Linked DNA regions of Homo sapiens: all the other regions are linked to region 3. Evidence: promoter capture Hi-C in 16 types of primary human blood cells and fetal thymus (Javierre and others, 2016). All regions are on one chromosome and are shown on one strand. Each heading gives the region's core, a stretch centred on a gene start or on the middle of the fragment in contact. The rest is flanking DNA. Distances are from core to core; before and after follow the strand shown. Region 1 overlaps IGF2R (insulin like growth factor 2 receptor). Region 2 overlaps IGF2R (insulin like growth factor 2 receptor). Region 3 holds the start of TCP1 (t-complex 1). Region 4 overlaps IGF2R (insulin like growth factor 2 receptor).

The links. The method cuts DNA at HindIII sites, captures the fragments that hold promoters and counts their contacts. A CHiCAGO score of 5 or more calls a contact.
Region 1: a contact is called between a fragment that was not itself captured here and the fragment with the promoter of TCP1 in region 3, in 4 of 17 cell types (fetal thymus, neutrophils, M2 macrophages and 1 more). The highest score is 6.8, in fetal thymus.
Region 2: a contact is called between a fragment that was not itself captured here and the fragment with the promoter of TCP1 in region 3, in 6 of 17 cell types (neutrophils, total B cells, naive B cells and 3 more). The highest score is 12.4, in neutrophils.
Region 4: a fragment that was not itself captured here is called in contact with the fragment with the promoter of TCP1 in region 3 in 8 of 17 cell types (neutrophils, monocytes, erythroblasts and 5 more); the score reaches 9.5 in neutrophils.

What each region holds. Positions count from the first base shown.
Region 1 is chr6:160,046,110-160,048,809 of GRCh38, reverse strand. IGF2R (insulin like growth factor 2 receptor) reads right to left here. Exons shown (of 48, transcript NM_000876.4): 15 at 2,165-2,312; 16 at 1,474-1,651; 17 at 903-1,018; 18 at 267-435. Among named protein-coding and RNA genes, the nearest start is that of AIRN, 40 kb to the right of the region's middle. The HindIII fragment of the contact is 479 bases long and covers 1,135-1,613 here.
Region 2 is chr6:160,069,660-160,072,543 of GRCh38, reverse strand. IGF2R (insulin like growth factor 2 receptor) reads right to left here. Exons shown (of 48, transcript NM_000876.4): 31 at 2,486-2,676; 32 at 508-634. Among named protein-coding and RNA genes, the nearest start is that of SLC22A1, 51 kb to the left of the region's middle. The HindIII fragment of the contact is 1,570 bases long and covers 717-2,286 here.
Region 3 is chr6:159,788,268-159,790,967 of GRCh38, reverse strand. It overlaps TCP1 (t-complex 1), which reads left to right and starts at 1,366. Exons shown (of 12, transcript NM_030752.3): 1 at 1,366-1,563. The coding sequence starts at 1,500. MRPL18 (mitochondrial ribosomal protein L18) reads right to left here and starts at 501. Exons shown (of 4, transcript NM_014161.5): 1 at 329-501; 2 at 1-28. The coding sequence starts at 380. RefSeq lists enhancers at 314-373, 404-583, 840-1,503, 1,504-2,168. The HindIII fragment of the contact is 4,019 bases long and covers 1-2,700 here.
Region 4 is chr6:160,098,458-160,101,157 of GRCh38, reverse strand. The region is part of intron 45 of IGF2R (insulin like growth factor 2 receptor); the gene reads right to left. Among named protein-coding and RNA genes, the nearest start is that of SLC22A1, 22 kb to the left of the region's middle. The HindIII fragment of the contact is 1,377 bases long and covers 601-1,977 here.

The DNA.
Region 1 (2,700 bases), core at 125-2,624, 260 kb before region 3:
GACATAACCATTCGGTGCTTCCTCTGCCCTTTGTGTGATCAAAAGTCTGCAACACAGCATTCTCCATGTGAACAATGATTCCTGTGTGACACACTTCTGCTCCTACAGGAGGCAGATGAGTTCACATGGAGGCCCCACTCCTACTCAGAGGGTTTCTCTCGAGCAGCTGTGCTGCCTTTGATCTGGATGTCCCAGAATAACCACCTCCTCCCACTAAGTCATGGAATTAGGAGGGCAAAGGAGACAAGCAGTGAAAACAGATTCACCTGATCTTTTTCATACTTCATCTGGCAAGCCGATGCATATCGGTTGCAGCCCGGCACTGGATTCAGAGGCCGACACACGTTAATGTAGTATTTCCTCCACGTGACATGTTCCCCTGAGTTGTCCATGGCATACCAGTTTCCTCCAAGGCCACCTTCAGATTTTGCCAGACTAAAATTTCAAAGCAAAATGTATATGCTTTTAAAGAGCTTACACATTTCAGTCTCATTTATTTCTATGTAGTTGGGGAAGTAAAGCTACCAAATAAAACATGCTCCACCAATCACACTACCAGGAGTTGGCTTGTCTGGGCGCATGACGCACCAGGATTACACTCCACCTTCGCTGAACTCAGTATGCAGTGGACCTTAACTGTCCCCCGTGCCTCTGCACTGACAGTCATTGTTTTAAATGATGAAGCTAAAGGCCGAGGCTCTGCTGTGGCCAAGACTGGTTGCTATCCCAAAGGCGACCAGACAGTTATTAGAATTCACTCTGCTGAAAATGCCCCACCTTGGTCCTGCAGCCCCACAGCCAGCATCACTCCCCATCATCAGCTCAGTCACACGCTCACCAGCAACACTTGCAACCTCAGCATCTGTACCAGGCCAAAAACAGAGCAGCTGACTCTGCCTCACCTGGAGAGGTCGTACTGCTCCAGCGTGGAGGGGTCGGTCACTACGCATTCCAGGGGCTCCTCCGGGCAGGCATAGCTGGTGTACCACCGGAAGTTGTAGGTGGAGTTATCCTCTTCCTAATCCACGGCAGATGCGCGGAGGGATGGCAAAAAGAGAAAGACACGTGACATAAAACCAGGATTCAAAAAAGGACGAGAGCAATGTTCCCAATGAGAAACTGTGAAGAAAAGCTTAGTCTGCCCATCTCCCTTCATTTTATTAAAAAGAAGACTGTCCAGTAACAAATCAGGATGAAAATTTAGCCTCTGCTAAGTGGGGGTTAATTCAGGATTTTTTTTTATGCTTTTGTATGTTTTGTACCCAAAACTGACAGGCTTGTGGGCTGTTATTAAGGTGCACAACCCACTAAATAAACAGCTTAAAATACTAATACTGCCCAGGCACCCTGGCAAATCTAATGACGGTGATGATTTGGCTGGAAACCCAGACTGATACAAGCTCTGCTTAAATGAAAGGCCCACCACAGGCATGAGTATCCTCAGGGAGCGCGATGAGGAACAAACATTCCTACCTGATATTCAGGGAAGCCCACTCCCGCGTCTCGATCACAGAGAAAGGTGATGAGCGTAGCTCTCGGTGTGTGTCTTTCATTGTTATAGGGTGTGCCGCCTCTGTAGTTCAGTTGGATCATCCCATCATAATATGAAAGCTTCGCATTACTCAGACCCAAGTTCCAAGTCTTCTCATCACTGAAATAAACACACGTTTCTCTCAGCAAAGACCTGAGGGGCAGAAGCACTCCAAGGCTGCCACACTGAAGGGAGGGCCCGTGAGCGACGTGAGGAGTCACCAGAACCAGGCCCGGGCTGCAGACCACAGGAACCCACACAAGGTCTCCAACGGCAGCAGGAACACTGGGACCCAAATCTCCTCTTGGCACCGCTGGTTTAGACAACTCACTTCATTTGAACTGCAGTTACGCAGAATGCAGAAATACGCACAGAGATATCTAGGCACTGAGAAGCACAAAATGCGCAATAGTGAGGCATAACCTCAATCCACCCTTCTTTCCCAAGGATGGGCCTGCTCCTTTCTCTGGGAAATTAAACTCCTAACATCCTTCAGTTTTCAGACCAGGTCTCATCAGTATTTAAATGCTTGTCATAAAGCAATGACATTAAGTGAGAACACACCTATTCCTGAAAATAATATTTCTTAGCATATAATGCCTAAGAATGAAACAGAACTGAGAAGCTACTTGCCTTTTTGCCACCTGGCAGGCTCCTGAGTCTGGCTGACAGGGGCTCACAGACACCGGGCCACACACATTTATATAAAAGTCATACTTCTTTGTCTCAACTTTATAGGCACCATTTTTCTTTGTGAGAGGTGATAAGTCAAAAGAAAACCCTAAGAAAGAATAAAAACAATAAAAGTATGGAAGGTCAGTCCGACAGTTAACAGAGTGGTCTCACCCCACAGTTTGAAAGGGAGAGGTTCTTCCCAGGAGGTTCCCAACGGCAGGAAGAAGTGGAGGAGGCAGAAGAGACGCTGCCCCTTGAGGCCACCAGAACCGCGATTACTAACATTTTCCTTGGAGATGGATCCAACTCCACCATTCCCTTCTACTGGGTTAGCCTAAAGCGCTATTCAAAGCCCATAACTGCTGGGCTAATAAACAACAGCATGTTCAAAGTAGGACGAGCATGATATTATGGCCTTCTTGTAAGGTCTCCCTCAGAGAGGTTTCTTGCCTAGAATTCACACGAAAGCCTTTTCAAACATAATTTATTCCCTT
Region 2 (2,884 bases), core at 252-2,751, 280 kb before region 3:
CACAGCACCCTCTGCTGGGCCATACCACAGCAGCCACTAAGAGTCTGGTGGGCATGGGGAGAGCCTGCCCAGCACACCTCTTGCTGCCAATGGACTGTGCCTGTGCCTTTCTGGGTGCCCAGCACAAGGGCAGGTGAGAGACTCCTGGCAATCCACTACACTGATGCTGAAAGGCAGCCAGGGGCTAGCTCTAACCTGCCCTGGAGAGCCTAGAGCTGCTGGACTGACACTGTCAGTAACCCCAGTCAGGAGCACCTCTCACACCAGGAGAGTGACAGGAGGGATGGATTCTCTGTGGGAGCATTCTCTCCTCCACTGAAGGAGAGCCAGGAGAACACACAGCAGCCCATCCAGAGAAAGGCCAAACACACCCACACACCATGACACCTCTGCCCAGGGCGCCTGCTGCCCATAGCTTCTCTTTGGGTCTCTCCCCTGATGAGCTGGGTTTGGTGGGGGCACCGTCTCTCACCTGCGCTGGGGTTAACGACTGGCACCACCTCTCACCTGTGCTTGGGTTGGTGACCTGGCAGTCATCATGCTCGTTGCTCTTCATGGGACAGGCTGTGGCTGTGGGCCAGGCAAAGGTGTACTCACAGTCCTCCACGGCGCTGATGAACATGGGCCTGGAGTTCTACAACAAAGCACAGACAGGTCCTGAAGGGATCACGCAAAAACTCCATGTCTATCATGATTTCAACTTACAAGTGGAAGCTTCTCTGAAAAACTCCACAGCATGTGACATTTCTGTCTCCATGTGCCTGTGGGATGAGGCGCAGATTAGGAAAAGCAAAGGGTCAGAATGTGTCCTGAGCTGCCACCATGGGCTTCCCCTGCAGGTAAGTGAAACACCCACAGGCAGCAACACACTTAGGGGACCAGGAAGCTCCCTCAGGCTGAGGAACAGGACAGGGGTTGGGGACAGGCGTGCAAAGGATGCTGGAAGGGCTACAGGGAGACACAAATGTGTAAATCATTGATAAAATTCTAAAAACCAAATGAGGTAAAATCCATTATCACAGTCAAAACAAAAAGATATACCAAGAGAACTAGCCCATTCCACGCATCCTCCCACTGGCACCAGCCAAGGCTTACTCTGCTCATCTCAAAACGCTTCATGTCCACTGCAGAGTTAGCATGATGAGTTCAGCAGCACCTTCCTTCCCAGGTAAACCCCATGATTCCTGCTGGGCACCCTGATAAGCCACGCTGCAGTCCAGCCTCCCAGGCCCTGGGCACAGGGGCCTCGACACACCCCCACCCTTCCCTCCCAGCCTCCTGGGCCCTGGGCACAGGGGCCTCGACACACCCCCACCCTTCCCTCCCAGCCTCCTGGGTCTGGGGCACAGGGCCTCCACACACCCTTCACCTTTCCCTCCCAGCCTCCTGGGTCTGGGGCACAGAGGCCCCCACACACCACCCTCATCCTTCCCTCCCAGCCTCCTGGGCTCTGGACATGGGGAACCCCACACACCCCTTCACCCTTCCCTCCCAGCCTTCTGGGCCCTGGGCACAGGGGCCCCACACACCCTCTCACCTTTGCCCCCCACATGTGGGGCAGCCCTTTTGTCCTCGGCCATGAGCCTCTCAGGTCACAGAGGAGAATGCTCAGAGGCCCCAGCAGCTCATGAGTCTGGACTAAGCCTCTGCACAATCTTCCCAAGAGGAAACTTCCCTGCCGCTCCAGGCAAGAGGGCAGGCCTGAAGCTCCTGGAGCCCCCCATCCCAAGCTCCCCTACCACTGCTGCCCACCGCTGGAGAGCATGGGGCGAGCCACCCTGACACCCAGCGAGCTGGTCTTGCCCGAGTTAATGCCCAACTCAGCCACCGAGCTTGTCATGCACGCTAGCACTGGGGCTCACCACAATCTCACACACAGAAAAACCTGTATGCAGTCGACACCTGCTTACGTGCATGCCAAACAAGTAAGGGAAGAACTGATCACAGGCACTCATGCTCACTGACTGTGCATCTCCCGTGTGTCAGAAATGACACCTGGCACTTCCTACCTCTTCTCTCGAAACCCTGCAATGGGCAGGACAAGTATGCCTCATGTTATGAACGGCTGAGCAGGGCAGACTACCTGAGTAATTAACCAAGTTATGTGGCTGGGAAGTGGCAGCGCTACCTGTGACCCGGGCCCAGCCAACCTTCTCGTGCTTCCCAAGCTGCCGCCGTGAAGACAAAAGGGCATGTAGTCAAACAACAATCTCCTCCACAGCCTTTAGGGGTCTGAGTCAAACTCTGAAGAGAACCAATTCTGAGTCGGGAACTGCCAGGCAAGCTTCTAAGGAGCCAGACAGCACGAGGGTTCCCCAGATTGCAGGCCGCGGCGACGCTGTTCCCCCAACCTCTGGTAAGGGCGCATCATCCCAGGCTCTAGAACTCGCATCCCAAGGCAGATGAGGACGTGCGGCTCACCGCCCTGCACATGGGCTCAATTCCCAAAGCTGCAACAGCAGAAGGTGCAGGAACAGTCCCTTACCACTTGGCTCTCGCTGCAGGTGAATCGGATGGTGGTTGACTTTTTCCGAATCCCATCTGGACATAAGTCGCCATCAACGTATTTCAGGACAATTATGCCATCTCTCCACTGAGGTCCGTCCCTTACCCTGCCGAGGTTCACGGGCTTGGAGCCACCCAGCAGACACGCGGCTGCTTCTGGAGGGCACGGCTCTGCAGCACCAGACACAAGAAAGAGTTGCCTTTAGTGACTCCCCAGGCTAGAACAGAACTTCATCAGGCAATAAATGTCACACACGCTGCAGAACTTCATACGCTTTCTAAGAGTCACTTCAAAATACCTGCTATTTCTTTCACATAAGTCAGATGACAATGACATCACGTTAGTTCTCACTCACTTACATGCTGTTTTGTCACAGAT
Region 3 (2,700 bases), core at 117-2,616:
CTGGTTGACAGGGCTGCGAACCTGCACCCTGGGCAACGGGAAAAACCGCACAGGGCTTAAAAATGACGGATATGGACAGCGCACGAACCCGCTCTAACGTCTATCCGCTTTTACACCCCCAATCTTTAGGCCCGAGGGGACGAAAAATACGTATGCCCACAGGGTGGAGTCAGCACTGACCCCGTCCTTAACTTCCTACTGTGGTCTTCGCAGTGCCGCGAGCTCTATTTCGATCCGGCACGTCGAATACAAAATAGAACCCGCACGTTCCAATGTACTGTGCAAGCCCAGGCGAGTGAGCTGGGAGAAGGGGGGCAAGACTAATTACCAGGGTTCCTGCAAACCGAGAACAACCCCCAAAACCGCGACCGAAGCGCCATCGCTGAGACGATCTCGGAAAAGCCTCGCCTCTTTTTCCTCACGGACGACTCAGTCGCTCGCCAGGAGCAGCCATATAAAGTCAGGGACAAGCCTTTGGCTGCTGTAGATCCCCAAACTCTCCACGCCAGACGCCACCGACCCGGAAGTAGCAAGTCCCCTGCCACTGAGTGGCCGAGAAGGCGATCTGTTATCCTTCATCGCCAATCATCGCTCACGTCGAGGGGCACGCAGGCCCTGGAGCCCACCAACCACCTCGTAGCTACGCCCAAGACCACGCTTGTTGCTTAAGTCCGGGGTCAAAGGCACACACCCCACAAAACCATGTTTGGGTTTTCTACTCGGAGAGCTTGGGCGGTCATCGACTGGTCCACACACACCCCACCTGGGCACCGCGTAGGAATAAGGCAGGGCAAGATGCAGTTTTCTCCTTAAAAAGGGTGGTTGTCTTCCTCGAACCAAAAATTTTCCCGTATGGCCCGCTGGAAAAACTGCCCCGTCCCACCCAGGTTCGCGCCCTTAAACTTACACTCCTGAGGCCTGGAGCAAAGCCGGCCGATCTGCCTCACGCTCCCCGAGCAGGGACAAGGAAAAGACACTAAACCTAAAACGCACGACTCGCTCAGAACCCCAACTCTAACTTGGAGAAGGGCCCGCCCCTCCAGTTACACCCCAGCTCCAAGCTCCACCCTTCTTACAACCTTTTCTAGAAGGCACTAGAATGGCCCACTGCGTCTGCGCAACATCGTTTGAGGCGAAGGTTCAACCTCTTCCCAGCGGTCCAACATCCGACTTCCGTTCTCCGCTTTCGCGCCCTTCCCATCGGCTATCTAATTGGACAAAAATGCCGACCCCGCCCCTTCCCCGGAGCCTCACTTCCGTCACAGTCCTGTTTCTCTCCCTGTTGTCCCTGCCTCTTTTTCCTTCCCGCCGTGCCCCGCGGCCGGGCCGGGGCAGCCGGGAAGCGGGTGGGGTGGTGTGTTACCCAGTAGCTCCTGGGACATCGCTCGGGTACGCTCCACGCCGTCGCAGCCACTGCTGTGGTCGCCGGTCGGCCGAGGGGCCGCGATACTGGTTGCCCGCGGTGTAAGCAGAATTCGACGTGTATCGCTGCCGTCAAGATGGAGGGGCCTTTGTCCGTGTTCGGTGACCGCAGCACTGGGGAAACGATCCGCTCCCAAAACGGTAAGGGCGGGCCGGGCCTGGGTCGGGTTTGCGGCCGGGGAGGGCCGAGTCCCACCGCGACCGGACCCCGGCTGCCCTCGTTTCTCTCCTTTACCTCCGCAGAAAGGGCCTCGGGGCCCCGCAGCCGGACCCAGCCCACCCGCCGTTCTCTGGGGCAGGGCGCTGTGGCCCCACTTTTCCCACAGCGAGGAGGAGCCCCGCCGCGCGCGGCAGGGTTTTGAGACCGGCAACGCGTGGATGTGGTGTCCGGGGCGGCGTTGGAAACGCGCCCTCCGCGGGAAAGCGGGCCTCCCGGGCTCGCACGTGCGGGCCACGCCTCGCACCCCCTTTTGTTTCAGGGCGACCCCCTGAGTGTCCATGTTAAACGCCAGGTTTTATTTTAGGACCATTTACCAGAAAAAGAGTAGGTCCATCCGCGCGCCCTCGGATGAGCCCGGTGCCCTGTCCGCCCGCAGCTGCAGTCGAGGTCGGGCGTCCGGCGTCCAGCCGTATCCGGGTTGACAGCTTCTTACAGTAGAGTTAGCCCAGGAAACGCCACTCGAGTGCATTGACCCCAGGAGACGGCAGCGCTAACTTAGCAGAGCGTTTGCTGTCAGGCCTTTGGATACCTACAGAGCTTACTGTTTCTTGATAGATTCCTAATTTTTTTCGTAAACAAATCTGAAAGTCACCACCTTCCCCGTTGACTACCGATTTCTCTCCTCACAGATAAAGAGAGTTTTAATGAGCAAAAAACTTGCAGAATCTGAAGGAAAAGGCTGGTATAGCTGTACGAAGTGGCAGAGCATGAAATTGGTGGTTATTACTTTTTTTTTTTTTCCCCGCCATCAGATTCCACCCCGCATCAAAGCTGTGCCAAATAGGCTCGCTTTGTTTAGGGACAGGGTCCCACCTGTCGCCCAGACGAGAGTGCCATCATAGCTCACTGCATTCTCCAAGCACAGGTCCGCGCCGCCGCATCCGGCTTTGTTTTTATTTTTTGTAGAAATGGGTTTCGCTATGTTGCCCAAAGGGGTCTCAAACTCCTGGCATCAAGCGATCCTCCTGCCTCGGCCTCGCAGTGTTGGGATTACACCTGTGAGCCACAGTGTCTGGCCCCATTTACACTCTTAGTAGGTGGTTTTTAAATAATTAACA
Region 4 (2,700 bases), core at 40-2,539, 310 kb before region 3:
CTTGGTTCCTAACTTAATTGCATCATGTATGTAGTTAATTGCATCAGTCAGAAATCTGCTGACTTAGGCCGAGCACAGTGGCTCATGCCTGTAATCCCAGCACTCTAGGAGGCTGAGGCAGGTGGATCACCTGAGGTCAGGAGTTTGAGACCAGCCTGGCCAACATGGTGAAACCCCATCTCTACTAAAAATACAAAAATTAGCCAGGAGGTAGTGGCACACGCCCATAATCCCAGCTACTCAGGAGGCTGAGGCATGAGAATCACTTGAATCTGGGAAGCAGAGGTTGCAGTGAGCCAAGATCGCACCACTGCACTCCAGCCTGGGCAAAAGAGCAAGTCTCTGTCTCCAAAAAAAAAAAAAAAAAAAAAAAAAAAAAAAAAAAAAAAAAAAAAAAAAAAAAAAAAAAAAAAAAAAAAAAAAAAAAAAAAAAGGGAAATTGCTGACTTGCCTGCTTTGTGGTTAATTTTTGCTAAAGTTTTCTAAGTGTTTGATGTAAGCTTGGGCAAACAGTGTTCTCCCAACGCAGGGAACAGTGTTCTGCGCATGTCTATTAAATCTTGCTTTTCACTGTGCTGTCTCAATCTTCCAAAAAAAGCTTTACTCTTTGTCTACTCAACCCAGCAATCACTAGGCTTGTTTCTTGTGTGTGGTTTTGTCAATTTCTGCTTTACATATCAAGGCTTTTTTATTAGGTAGATGGAAGTTTAGGATTCTTGTATCTTCCTAGGAAATTAGCCCTTTTAAAATTATAATGACCCTCTTTATTCTTTATCCCTAATATTTTTCTTTAATATCCTATTTTATCTTATATTAACATAACTACTGCAGCTTTCTTTCAGATTATTTTCTGGTATATCTTTTCTTCTCCTTTGACTTTGGTCTTTTCTGTATCCTTGTTTTAGGCATGTTCCCTGTAAACAGAGTTGTTTTTGAAATCCAGTTTGACAACTTGTTTTTTAGCTGACAAGTTTAGTCAAGCTATACTTATGATTATAGATATATTTAGATTTATTTCTACCATACTGGGCTGAAATTTCTACTTATCTGATTTTTGTTTTATTTTTCTCCTTGCTTGTCTTCTTTGGGGATTTAAGTATTTTTACTTCTCCTTTTCTTCTCCGCTGTTTTGGAAGTTACATACTATATTTATATTATTTTAGTGGTTATTCTTAAAATACTGGCATGCATACTAAGACAGGAAGTCTAACAGTATGTCTTCCAAACAATTAGGAACTCTACCTTTTCTTCCTTCCTTCATTTCTTTCAAGAAAATGGTTTTACTTTCATATGATGCTATCACTGTAAGAAATTTTAAAAGCTGGGAACTCTGCCACCCCTCTCAGCTTAGACACCACTGTTGTCCAGTACAGTGTGTCCTCATAGGGTCGCTGACAGTTTCCTTCAAACTGCAACCTTCCGTGAAGCGACTATGGGAGGTCCTCGAATGACATCATTTCCTTCAAAACTGTCTCATTATAAAGTTGATGAGGCCGGGCACGGTGGCTCACGCCTGTAATCCCAGCACTTTGGGAGGCTGAGGCAGGCGGATCACAAGATCAGGAGATCGAGATCAACCTGGCTAACACGGTGAAACCCCGTCTCTACTAAAAATACAAAAAAATTAGCCGGGCATGGTAGCGGGCCCCTGTAGTCCCAGTTACTTGGGAGGCTGAGGCAGGAGAATGGCGTGAACCTGGGAGGCAGAGCTTGCAGTGAGCCGAGATCGCGCCACTGCACTCCAGCCTGGGCGAGAGCGAGACTCTGTCTCAAAAAAATAACATAACATAACATAACATAACATAACATAACATAACATAACATAAAGCTGAGGAAAAAAAACTGGTTTCATTATACATCATTTCACATAAAGTTGCAGTTTCCAAGAACCTATCGATGATATAAAGTGAGGATTTAAAGTATTTTAACCTTTCTTGAATTATTTTCTAATACAACAAATTAGCCTCCCCTAAAGCTTTTACAGTCTTTTCTTTGTATCTGCTCTCCTGGTATTTCATAAGTGGGTGGGTCTTGTCATCAATAACTGTGCTGGGCACATAGCCTGCCCCTTCCATCTGTAGATGCCTGTCTTTTAGCTTTGTGTAAATTTTTTGACTTTAATCAAATATTGTGAAAGAACCATTTTTGTAAAGTAGGAGGAAGGTGTAAGACAGCTCTATCTTCATCTACTATTGCAGGAAGTCAACAGATGAGATATAGGATGTTAATTTAAAATACTGAGGTAAATTCCAGAAGAAATAGCTAAAAGAACTAAAAATGGTAATCTATTAGGGCGAACATTGCTACCTGTTTGTTATAGTTACATGATTTTTTTTCCTGAGATCTAGTCTCGCTCTGTCACCCAGGCTGCAGTACAGTGACGCCATCTCGGCTCACTGCAACCTCCACCTTCCAGGTTCAAGCAATTCTCCTGCCTCAGCCTTCTGAGTAGCTGCGATTACAGGTGTGCACCACCACACCTGGCTAATTTTTGTATTTTTAGTAGAGACGGGGTTTCACCATGTTGCCCAGGCTGGTCTAGAACTCCTGACCTCAAGTGATCCGCCCACCTTAGCCTCCCAAAATGTTGGGATTACAAGCGTGAGCCACCGCGTCTGGCCATATTTACATGATTCTACAATGTACAACACTGATAACATTTGGGGAAAAAAAAATCTCAGGCACTATTCCACGTCACCC